Regions from separate parts of the Homo sapiens genome. Here region 2 is linked to region 1. Evidence: promoter capture Hi-C in 16 types of primary human blood cells and fetal thymus (Javierre and others, 2016). All regions are on one chromosome and are shown on one strand. The core of a region is centred on a gene start or on the middle of the fragment in contact, and the rest is flanking DNA. Distances in the headings are between cores, read along the strand shown. Region 1 holds the start of TMEM167B (transmembrane protein 167B). Region 2 holds the start of EEIG2 (EEIG family member 2).

The links. The method cuts DNA at HindIII sites, captures the fragments that hold promoters and counts their contacts. A CHiCAGO score of 5 or more calls a contact.
Region 2: a contact is called between the fragment with the promoter of EEIG2 here and the fragment with the promoter of TMEM167B in region 1, in 2 of 17 cell types (non-activated CD4 T cells and total CD4 T cells). The highest score is 8.2, in non-activated CD4 T cells.

The regions. Positions count from the first base shown.
Region 1 is chr1:109,088,318-109,094,406 of GRCh38, reverse strand. It overlaps TMEM167B (transmembrane protein 167B), which reads right to left and starts at 3,643. Exons shown (of 3, transcript NM_020141.4): 1 at 3,525-3,643; 2 at 1,386-1,517. The coding sequence starts at 3,534. It also overlaps the pseudogene NDUFB3P1. RefSeq lists an enhancer at 3,810-4,009. The HindIII fragment of the contact is 3,338 bases long and covers 3,069-6,089 here.
Region 2 is chr1:108,557,074-108,562,862 of GRCh38, reverse strand. It overlaps EEIG2 (EEIG family member 2), which reads right to left and starts at 2,763. Exons shown (of 11, transcript NM_001010883.3): 1 at 2,298-2,763. The coding sequence starts at 2,434. RefSeq lists enhancers at 1,560-1,609, 2,073-2,172 and a silencer at 2,563-3,102. The HindIII fragment of the contact is 6,399 bases long and covers 1-2,988 here.

The DNA.
Region 1 (6,089 bases), core at 2,394-4,893:
AAAGAGAGAAGAAATCACACCCTGCCCTTCACCGAAGTCCTCACTTTCAAGGTGATATTTTGAAGTCTCTAGTCACAGACAGACATATCAACGCTCTCAAGGGCCTGGGATGTTTTTATTTTATTTTTGGAGGCAGTCTCACTCTGTCGGCCAGGCTGGAGTGCAGTGGCGCGATCTCGGCTCACTGCAACCTCTGCCACCCGGGTTCAAGCAATTCTCCTGCCTCAGCCTCTTGAGTAGCTGAGATTACAGGCGCCTGCCACCATGCCCAGCTAATTTTTGTATTTTTAGTAGAGATGGGGTTTCACCATCTTGGCCAGGCTGGTCTTGAACTCTTGACCTCAGGTGATCCACCCACCTTGGCCTCCTAAAGTGCTGGAATTACAGGCGTGAGCCACCGTGCCCGGCTCCCTGGCTAATTTTTGTATTTTTAGTAGAGACAGGGTTTCACCATGTTGGCCAGGCTGGTCTCGAACTCCTGACCTTGGGTGATCTGCCCTCCTCGGCCTCCCAAAGTGTTGGGATTACAGGCATGAGCCACCGCATCCGGCCTCTGAGATGTTTCTAAATGCTATCCTTATGCTTTAGGGTCTAGGTGAATATACTGTTTGTTTATATTTTGTCCTTTTTCAAAAAAAAATTTAGGTAGATAGGATTCCAAATGAATGTGCCTCAAATAAAAAGTACAAAAAAGCATCTGAGTTAATTAACTCAAACCTTAAAACAGACTCCAATGTACCATTTACAGAAAATCAAGAAAAATTTTCCGTAGAAAAATTTTTTTCCCACTGAAGGGAGGAATTCCACCCCAGCCTAAAATGATTTGATGTGTATACTTTTACTCCATGGAGAATACAAAAATCATCTGGATGCTAAAATAGACAATTATGTTTTTAAATAATTTTTTTTTTTTTTGAGACAGGGTCTCACCCTGTCACCTGGGCTGGAGTGCAGTGGCTCCACCATGGCTCACTGCAGCCTCAACCTCCTAGGCTCAAGCAATCCTCCCACCTCAGTCTCCTGAGTAACTGGGACTACAGGCACGTGCCACCATACCTGGCTAATTTTTGTATATTTTGTAGAAATGGGGTCTCACTGTGTTGCCCGGGCTGATCTACAACTCCTGGACACAAGCAATCCTCCTGCCTTGGCCCCCCAAAGTGCTGAGATTATAGGCATGAGCCATCACACCCAGCAAATTTTAACTTTTACCTCTTCCCTCAACTTTGGAGAATGATTAATTTTCCAGACTCTCAGACCCAATCGGAGGGATTTTTTTCTAAAAATGAAACCAAATATAATCCCAGCTCACTGTACTCCCTACTTTGTAGCTCCACACTGTCCAGAGATGGCAGTCTCTTCTCCCTGTCCAGACATGGCCTCACCTTTGTAAAACACACCCCAAACACCCTTCTTCTCTGATAGCAGCCAGGTTTTGAGACGAGGTACTTTCTTGAAGTAGGCACAGGTGCAAACAAAGAGCAAACCAAACACCAGAATCCCATCCAAGGAGTACACTGTTAAATAAAGAAGAAAAGAAAACCTTAGGTACTGATCTAGCGTCGGACCTGTGATCCCGCCTGAGAACTCTAAGGAAGATAGTGTGTGACATAATAACAAAATAATAACCTCAACAGGCAGTACTGACACTTGACAAGGGGGAGCCAGGATCCTGGGACTAACACGATTATTTTACTGTTCCCAAAAATTGCTTGTAGGAGGAAGGGGGATCAATTGAGCCCAGGAGTTCGAGGCTGCAATGAACTACGATCATGCCACTGCACTGTAGCCTGAGCAACAGAGTGAGACCCCAACTCAAAAAAAAATTTTTTTTTTTACATCCCCTTTACTAAAATGTCACTGGTCCTTCCCCTCACCTTTCAAGAAGTAGAAATCCTGGGCAGAAATTAGCATCCCAGGAATGACTAGTGTTGGCAATAGATTGAGACATATGAATCCTTAGAGACTCAGCACAGAGAATTTAACATGTTCTTGTTATAAATCACTCATATGATAAAGGAGAGCTAGATATGTAGCCAAAACTGTCAGATGTGCAACTGTTGGTGAAGAATATGTTAAGGCAAAAAATTAAGCTTAATGAAAGTTGCAAGAGTAAGAATCCACATGACTACAATTTTCCTATCATTATCTTACACTTTATGGATGATACTCTTAACAAACCGAATTTCTGCCAGAATAATAACAGATTTTTCTAAAACAAAGAAAAAGTATCTAAGGCTTCAACATAGAAAGCTTTAACTTCTTAGCTCTGTTTCTTAAATACATAAACCAAGCTTATTTCTTGTACAGGGAAGCACAATGAATCACCTAATTGCAAAAAACAAGAAGATATTGGACCACAAAATGGGGGAAGAATGACTAAAATTTATTCAGCAACTACCGTGTCAAACTGCTGTCTTACTTCCTGGTTCAGATTCTGTCTTCCTCTGGGTAAATTCCCTTTTCTTACTGTGCCTAGTATCCTGAGACCTCTGACTTCCCAGGAAGCTCCAAATGAATATTATATATAACCAGTGTCTGCCAGTTCTAGATCACACTACCTCTCTTCCTCCAGTAAAACTGTCTCACAGCTAAGCTGTCACTAAGAAAGGGTCCAGCAAATTAATACATACACTAAGGTTTTCTGAGGAACTATACCTTCACGTGCTACCCCTTTTCTCTCATAAGTTTCTGCAGACAATGCCAAAATTCACAAGGAGGTTAAATTCGAGTCTTCAGTGCCAGGTCTATGGACAAAGTACTTTTGAGAAATGCTTTCCGGAGCCCCTCAAATCATCGTAATGCCTAAAAGGCTTTCTCTTCTCCTTTCCTGTAAGGTTGACACTAAAAATCATGAAGGCCCTCCTTCCTGTCCTCCTCTGGAATTCAGAATTCATAAAGTGTTTGAAGAGGCCTGGAAAATTAGGTCAGATAAACTGCCTCATCATCTAGAAGAGGCAGTGTCTAAATCCACCCTTTGCAACACTAGTCAGGGTCTCCACGTGGGATCACCCCGCCAGGACTTTAAAATCAGAAATCTTTCCGGTATTTTTCCGTAAGAAGAAGCTTTTGTGGGGTCTACATTCACCAGCAACCCCAAAAGTGTGGGACTTGATATTCTATGTCATTTATTGGCCCTCTCAACAAAACTACGGTCCGAAAGCATGAGAACGCAGGGAGCTGGGAGGAGGAGCCTCTCTCTTCCCCGGGTTTAAATAGCAGTAGTACCTCTGGGACTGACCTCTCCAAGGGCCAGAAAGAACTAAGAAAAAGAAAAGGGAAAGCAAAGCATAGGGATAGATAACTCGAGGTGTGAGCATAAGAGGCACTGGGGGTCCTAGATGAATATGGGAAGGGGGAACCCGTAGAGGAGTATAGGGGTACAGAAGTTAGGGGCGTCGAGAGGCCAAGGGGGGCCGGGCTGGGAGGGGGCGGGGAGAACGGCCACGTCAGTCCCGGCCCCGCCCGCCACGTTTTCCCTTCGTCCTTCACTCCCACCCTCCGCTCAGGGCATCAGTTCTCACCGTTCGTCATGGCGGCTGGCCCTGGACCTGGGTAGGGGGTCCGGGTTCAGTGGTAATAGCGGCGGAGATGGGGGAGCGCCCGCTTGACACTTCCCGATCCGGGCCGAGGTGACTGGAAGAAGCCGTAGTACGCAGGAGCAAGGGCCGAGAGGCGAGCGCCGAACGCTATCAGGAGTGGCTAGCCGATTGTCGAGCTCGGGAAACTGCGTGTTTACGTAGGGTAAGAAGAACGCTATCTCGAAGGCTTCGTACTTGGCCGTGGTAACTAAGTCTTTTCTGCGTGCCCCTGCGGGCGTAGGGCTGGGGCTGGCCCGCGTCAGTGTGTTTGAAAAGGTAAAGGCTTGTAGTTTTGTAGTTTATTTTGCGCCGTGGCGGCTGCTGTGTGTAAGCAGCAGCCTACCTATGAGGTTTTCATCGTCCTGGGCTTCCACTTGAGAGAACTCCAGCACCGCGGGTGAAGAAGCCGCACCTGCGGCCTCCGTGACTGCCCTTGAGCTGCTCTTCCTTACTCCGGATGGAAATCTAGTCAGACTGCGTCTGAACGTTGCAAATGAAATGAGGAACCTTGTAACAAAAACAAGTCGCGGCCGGGCGCGGTGGTTCACGCCTGTAATCCCAGCACTTTGGGAGGCCGAGCCAGGCGGATCACCTGAGGTCGGAGTTCGAGACCAGCCTGACCAACAAGGAGAAACCCCGTCTCTACTAAACATACAAAATTAGCCGGGCGCGGTGGCTCATGCCTGTAATCTAAGCACTTTAGGAGGCCGAGGCAGGCGGATCACCTGAGATCGTAGTTCGAGACCAGCCTGACCAACATGGAGAAACCCCGTCTCTACTACAAATACAAAATTAGCCGGGCATGGTGGCTCATGCCTGTAATGTAATCCCAGCTACTCGGGAGGCCGAGGCAGGAGAATCGCTTGAACCTGGGAGGCGGAGGTTGCGGTGAGCCGAGATCGCGCCATTGCACTCCAGCCTGGGCAACAAGAGCGGAAACTCCGTCTCAAAAACAACAACAACAACAACAACAACAACAAAAACCAAGTCGCATCTTTCAGATCCTAAAGCACCACGTCGTCGGAAAACATTCAAAGGGTTGCCCGTTTGCTTGTGTGAATTTTTCTTTTCCTTAAACTATCAGGAGAATCTCGATTCTCCTGCATTTAATTAATGCTGGGATCACTTCAGCCACTTTAACCAGAAATCGGCGATATCTAGACACCGCTTCTCTGAGGACACTTTGACAACGTGACAAAAGACATTGCCAGTCTAATGATGGGGGTGGGGTGGAGGAGACAAAAGTACAGATTCAGATTTGCATACTGAAATCCTTAATTGCACACAACTCGGCCCGCTTTATTAGAGTTCGGGCGGAAGTGCGACACCGAGTCCTCCAAGGCTAACTGGAGGGTTAAATTATACGGTTACTAATCCGCCGTGCTTGTCAAGGGCCTAAAGGGACTCTGCCCCTTTCTGCTGCAGTGCCATCTGCTGGCTGCAGCCTGCTTGGTTACCCAGAGGGAAAACTGCCAAAGCATCCTCTGGAAGCTGGCCTGGAAAGACAAGCCAAAGTCTAGTGCAGGACAGATGCCTTGAGAAAATATACATACATGCAGAAAGAAAAAAAAAAAAAGACGGCGTATATACGGGACAAAACCTAGGACAAGGCCAGGCAGCCACTCAGATTATATATATGTTTGCACATTCACACACAGACAAATTCCCCTGCCCAAAAGAACTGTTCAGGACCACTCAAAAACAAAACAGAACAAAAGCTCTATTGTTTAGGCCTTCGAATCCTTCATCAACCATTGTCTAAAACAGCAGCAGCTGGCCGGGCGCGGCTCACGCCTGTAATCCCAGCACTTTGGGAGGCCGAGGCAGGCGGATTACCTGAGGTCAGGAGTTCAAGACCACCCTGACCACATGGTGAAACCCCGTCTCTACTTAAAAAAAAAAAAAGAAAAAAGAAAAAAAGAAATACAGAAATTAGCCTGGCATGGTGGCGTGCGCCTGTAATCCCAGCTACTCGGAAGGCAGAGGCAGGAGAATAGCTTGAACCCGGGAGGGAGAGGTTGCAGTGAGCCGAGACAGCACCACTGCCCTCCAGCCTGGGCGACAGAGCGAGACTCCATTTCAAATAATAATAATAATAATAATAACTGCCCCCCTTTGGCCGGGCGCGGTTGCTCACGCCTGTAATTCCAGCACTTTGGGAGGCCGAGGTGGGCGGATCACCTGAGGTCGGGAGTTCGAGACCAGCCTGACCAACATGGAGAAACCCCGTCTCTACTAAAAATACAAAAGTAGCCGGGCATGGTGGCACATGCCTGTAATCCCAGCTACTTGGGAGGCTGAGGCAGGAGAATCGCTTGAACTGGGGAGGCAGAGGTTGCGGTGAGCTGAGATCCTGCCATAGCACGCTAGCCTGGGCAACAGTGAAACTACGTCTCAAAAAAAACAAAGAAAAGAAAAAAAATTGCCCCTCTTGTAATCCTACAGCCATCACCTTAGTAATTTTGCTATATCGGTAGTCTTTAAGTATCAATTATGTCCTCACAACAA
Region 2 (5,789 bases), core at 1,514-4,013, 530 kb after region 1:
TCTTTTTTTTTTTTCTTGTAAAATGAGGTCTCTTTCTCAAACCAACAATTTTGTAGTTGTTAGGATAAAGGAATCAAATATAACATCTCAAGCAAATGGACCTTCTTGGACAAGTTCCTGGTCTCCTCTTTAAATGCCAACTGGGTGCTAAGGCACTGTTTAGGTGTTTTGGGCACATCATCTCACTAAATCCTCACACCACCACATGTCAGTGATGGTTTCTATTTTACATACAGAAGTTTTGGGACTCTAAGTAACCCATCCAGGTTTACCACAGTGGAACTGGGGTTTAGGCTTAGACTCACCGCATTCCAAATCCTTGCTCTTAGCTTTACACCAACTATCTCTACCTAATGTCAAAGGCACAGGCTCCTTATTGTGAGTCATTTCCCCCATACTATATGGCTTTTTGGTTTGGCTACACAGAGCACTATTCCTAATCTTACTTAAAATCAAATTGATCAAAGTCAAATTTTAATTGGAAGAAAAAGGGGTGAGTTTAACCCAAGATACTCAACTTTTTCATTTCTAAGTCTTGCGGAGTATACCCCTTGCTCATTAAAGTCATTAGGAAGCTCCCTATTCAGAAACTTTCATATATGGCACACGATTTATTCCTTTATCTGGCACCACCCTGTTTGAAGTTACACAGACCTGATCAGAATCTTGGCATCGCACTTACCAGCTGAGGGGACCTTAGGAAAGTTAGTTATGCTTTCTGAGCCTCAGTTTATTTATCTACGAAATGGAACCCCTACCTTATAGACTTGCTATGAGAATTAAATAAGATAATATATTTAGAAGCCAACACATATTTGCTGAATAAATGACTGCCTACAACGAAAGAATAAGTGACTTGTGGGAAGTAAGCCAAATAAACATAACTGAGGTAGGAAGGAAGCCCCGTAGACAAGTGCCCTGACCACCAGGTGTCACCACTGGCCCAGGAGCGCCAGTCTAACTGCCTGGCGTCGGGGGTGGCACCCTGCAGCAAAACAGTCTAGGCCTCAGGGCAAGACTGTCACCTGCACCAACAGGACCTTCACGAATCGGCTTAGGCTTTTCAACAAGTAAGAGATGGTCCAATATTTTTTTTGCACCAAAATAGGTTACATTCTTCTCTTACAGGTGTTTAAAATACTTAGCTGAATATCCACTGATGTGTCACCACAGTTTAATTTTAAAAACTGTCTTCGGCAAACTATTAATTTCATATATCCTTTGGTTTAGCCAACTAGACATTTTCTGGCTTCCATAGGCTTCAATATTGCCCCAAAGACAAGTTTCTAGCCCCAATTCCACAATCCAGTGACATTATTTCCTTTATACTATAAATGGGATGACGGAATTTTTTTTAAGTAGAATATTTTTAGGGCAGAAATAAAGCCTAAGACCAGTATATATGGGCAAAATAACATTAACTTTTAACCCTTCTTGATCTCAGGAACTCAAAAGTTCATTTAAAAAATTGTTTTCTCTCTCTATGTATATATTTTAAAGAAAGCACCTTAGGGTACATCTGTCAACCTGTGAGTAGCTCTGAAATTACTCAAGAAACACTGCCACACCTATTATTAATGCCACACCTATTATTTAATAGCTTCATTCTGTAACCTGCTAATGCCTCTCTCTGGGAGTGCCCAGGGGCTCATTTTAAAATGAGGGCAGGGCCTGGGCTCCCCATCTGGCTCTAAGCCCTCCCACAAGGAGACCTACTAGTGGCCACTTCAAGACTAATTCATCCAGCATTAGCGCCTAACTGGAGACGCCGCTCTCTGATGAGGCACAGACCGTTGTCTCGTCTGCCAGGAGCACTTGACTCAAGTCAAGCCTGGCCAGGCCTACCCCAGCCTCAGAGTGGGTGGCCAAGTCCCCTTGTAATCTACAAGGGAGAAGGAATTGTGCTAAGCACAGGTTTCTGTTCAGAGCTGGGCTCTTGGAACTCCTGCAGTTTGGGTTATTTTAGTTTTTAACAGCTCAAGTTCTACTTTGCATTTCACAAATATGGAAATGTCTTAAGAGAAAACAGAAGCATCCTCCCTCTCTGGCCATTGCTCCCATTCCTAGAGGATTTGGGAGGGAAGAGCAGATACCAGGCACCATCTGGAGTCAGGAGCGCAGGAACCAAGGCCAGCTGAGAAGAACCCATTTGCAAAGCACTTTGCAGATCAATAAATTCGACTGATTTTAGAGCGGTCCCTAGGGAAAGGCGAGCAAATGGGCCAAGGAGAGATGCTGCCCATCCAACAAGCCCTGGCCAAGCAGAAAGGGGCGAGGCGGCGCGGGAGGCGAGTTACCTGGAGGACTCGGCGGTGAAGCTGCCGCCGTCCAGCAGCCGCATCTTGCAGAAGAGGACCCCATTGACGAAGGGCACTGAGGAGAGCTCCTCGAGCTCGAAGTCCACCTTAAACTTAAACTTCTTCTTCTTCATCATCGTGAGAGCCAGGCGCCTGCAAGCTGGGCGCACGGCCGGGCGCCGCCGCCTCAGCTTGGCCGAGCCCCGGATCAGCCCAGCCCCATGGCCGGGGCCGCGAGCTGTGCGCGGGGGCGCGGCCGGGGGGCGCCGCAGGCCGGCCGCGGCCGGGGCCGCTGCCGCCGCCTCTCGCGGCAGCCTGGGCCGGAACGCGGCGGCAGCTGCGGCGCGGACCCCGACCGCCCGCGGGGAGCGGTCGTGCTGCAGCTCGCCCGGGGAGGTGAGCGCCCTTTTGGTGCTCAGCTCGCCGCCGCCGCCGCCGCCGCCTCCGCCGCCGCTGCCGCCCGTCTGGGAGTCGGGAGAGGCGAGGCTCGAGGAACCGCCGCCTCAGCGCCTCGGGGGTCGGGGGCGCCCCCAGCGGCCGCGGCCTGCAGCGCACGGCGGGGCGGAAGCCGGAGGGAGGGCGGGGACTTTGTGGGCGGGCGCGGGCTTGGCCGCGGACTCTAACCCGCGACGGCAGTTAGCACGTCACGCCTTTCTGGGGTTAAAAAAAGACAAACCCGACAGAGAAAGCTTCCTTCTACCGCTTCCTCTCCGCCTTTCTTTTCAGTTTTTGCACCGCCTCCTTTCTCCCCCACCCCCTCCAGTGGTTTCTTTCCTTTGGGTTTGAGAGCCATGGGTTAATAGAGGCAATTAAAATCTCAGCGTTGTTTTGGTCAAATTGAAATCCTAAAACTAAAATTTCCGTTAGGTACTCTAAATTCACGAGCCTTCAAATATAAAAGGAAGATAAGGTAGGAAAAAGGAAAATGATGTGCTGAGGGACTATCAAGGGCCCAGGCACCGTACTGCTGCAGGCGCTTTCTCTGGGGTATAGCTTATCTAGTTCCTGTCACCCAGGACAAAAGATAAAAGAGCAAAGAAGCAGTTAAAATAATACCCTCCCTTTAAAAATTTGTCTGTCTATACTGAGAACTGAAATGCTTAAAATCAAATTCTGCAGGCAGTCTGGCATGGCTACGCTGTAATCCCAGCTACTCGGGAGGCTGAGGAGGGAGGTTAGCCTGAGCCGGGGAAGCGGAGCTTGCAATGATCGGAGATCGCGCCACTGCACTCTAGCCTGGGCAACAGAACAAGCCCCTGTCTTAAAAACAAAACAAAATCTTCAGAGCAGGCTTAAAAAAAAATCTCCCTAGGGGAATAACAATTACCTGCCTTCTGTAATCATGCATGTATTGTTACAATGAATGTTACAAAGTTGGTTACGTGATGTTCATGTTTTTAAACTGAGTTATTGTCATTTTCACTCAGATTCTGCCACAGTAATTCTGAAAGGGTTTAATTGAAAATATTTTCTTTCTCAGTTTACTCGTTTACTCATTCATTCATATAAAAAAATTGCTTAAAATGTCAATCATCGGCTAGACCCCATAACCAAAAGCCAATAACTGCCCTCAAGAATTTTACAATCTAGTGAGGAAGACATGTTTAGACAGGTCATTAAAAAAACACAACCTAGCACCAAGCTATGTAGAACTCAGAGAAGCAATTAATTGAAGTTAATCAGTTTTCTGAATTTCAAAGGATGAAAATGATTTGGGACAAAGTGGGGTAAGTTGTTCTAGGAGAAATAAATTAAAAAAAAAAAAAGATTCAGAGGCAGGTTCGGGGGTGGGGATTTGGTAATGGATAAAGCTTCTTACCCTGCAGGACAGGGGGCAAAGACAGTGAGATGCATTTGGGGACTTTGAGATTTGTCATTTAGAGCACTGGATGAATGTTAATTTCATTGACTGAACATTGAAAGCAAGAGGAGGGCAGGTTGGGAATGGAAGAGATAATGAGTCTTTATGGGATCTGCTTGCAGTACATCTAGGGAGAGAGAGGCAGCCTTAGCTCATAAAAATGCATTGGCAATTGAAAATATACATTTGGGAATTGAGGTAATCGCTGATGGCTGAAGCCCAAAAGGTGGATAAGGATGAGTTACTCTGAAGAATATTTAAAGGGTAGGCAAAGAGGAGATCGTGAAGGTGCCTAAGAACAAGCAGTCAAGAGAAAAAGGAGATGAAGAAAGAGATGGCCTGGAAGCCCAGACGGTTTTAATCATGTAACATTCGTAGTTACAAAGTTCTATTGTGTGCCAGGCACTATGCTGGGTACTAGAGATGCAAATGAATAAGACATAGGGGCTTATAAAGGAATGGAGAAAAACAGAGATATGCAAACAGATCAACTAAAGTGTGTGTGTGTGGTATGTGAGTATGTGTGTGTGAGAGAGAGAAGAGAGAGAGAAAGAAAGAGAGAGAGCAATCTGTGATCCATGTAGGACAGAGGACCATTTCAAGAGAGTGCTGCAGAGCAGTCCCAGAGGATTTGGACTGAAAAGAAGCTACTGAATTGAAGGTCTAGGAGGTCATTGGTAATCTTGGCAAGAGAAGTCATCATAAAAGATAGTGACAAAGTAAGATGAAAAGTGACAAAGTAAGTGAAAAGATGACAGTGAAAAGTAAGATAGTGACAAAGTAATGTGGGTAAATAAAAATTATATTTTTATTGATGTTTTTCTGATTTTTTTGTCAGCGAATGAAAAGAGAGAGAGAATGGTGACCAGAGGAGGACAGTTCAATCTTTTTCAATAACATTCAGGAACTATCCAATATTTATTGAGTGTCTATTAGGTGCCAAGCACCTTAATAGGTCCTATGGATTTGAAATGCCGTCCCTGTCTTAGATCTCACGGTCTACTGGAGGACACAGAGAAGTAAGCAGGCAGTTGCAGTACAATGTAACACTGAGTGCTGTCTGTGTATGATGGTGAGTGGAGACTGCTGTGGGAGACTATAAAAGCTAACAGGGATAAGTAGTAGGTTTATGGAATGCCTTCTAGGGTAAGTGAAGCCTGAATTCAGGCCTTTAAGCTGAGGCCTGAATAATGAGCATGGGTGGGGAGCAGTTTCCAGGAAGGAGGTAGTGTCTGTGCAGAGGCTCAAAGGAAGAGAGACCATGTTGCAGAGGGAACTGAAATTAGTTCTGTCTGGCTGCAACTTAGAGTTGGGTACAGTGACAGGGGTTAACAAAGAGCCATTGAAGTTTTAAAGAAGAAGCATGATATATTCAGATTTACATTTTGTAAAGCTCTTCTACTTTATAAAATGGAAGATAGGAGACAGTCTGTTACTGTTTTTTAGACTCATGGTTTGATTATTAAACCCCTGATAGGAGTCATAGTCAAGGCAGGAAACAGATATCATATTCAATGTGTTTAAATGGGGAAAATTTAATGAAAGGACTCTTCACAGAGTTGACAGGGTAAGGGACCCACAGTCTGGTGAGAAGTTGAAAGGAAGAAGGGATAAATATCCTGATTTCTCTC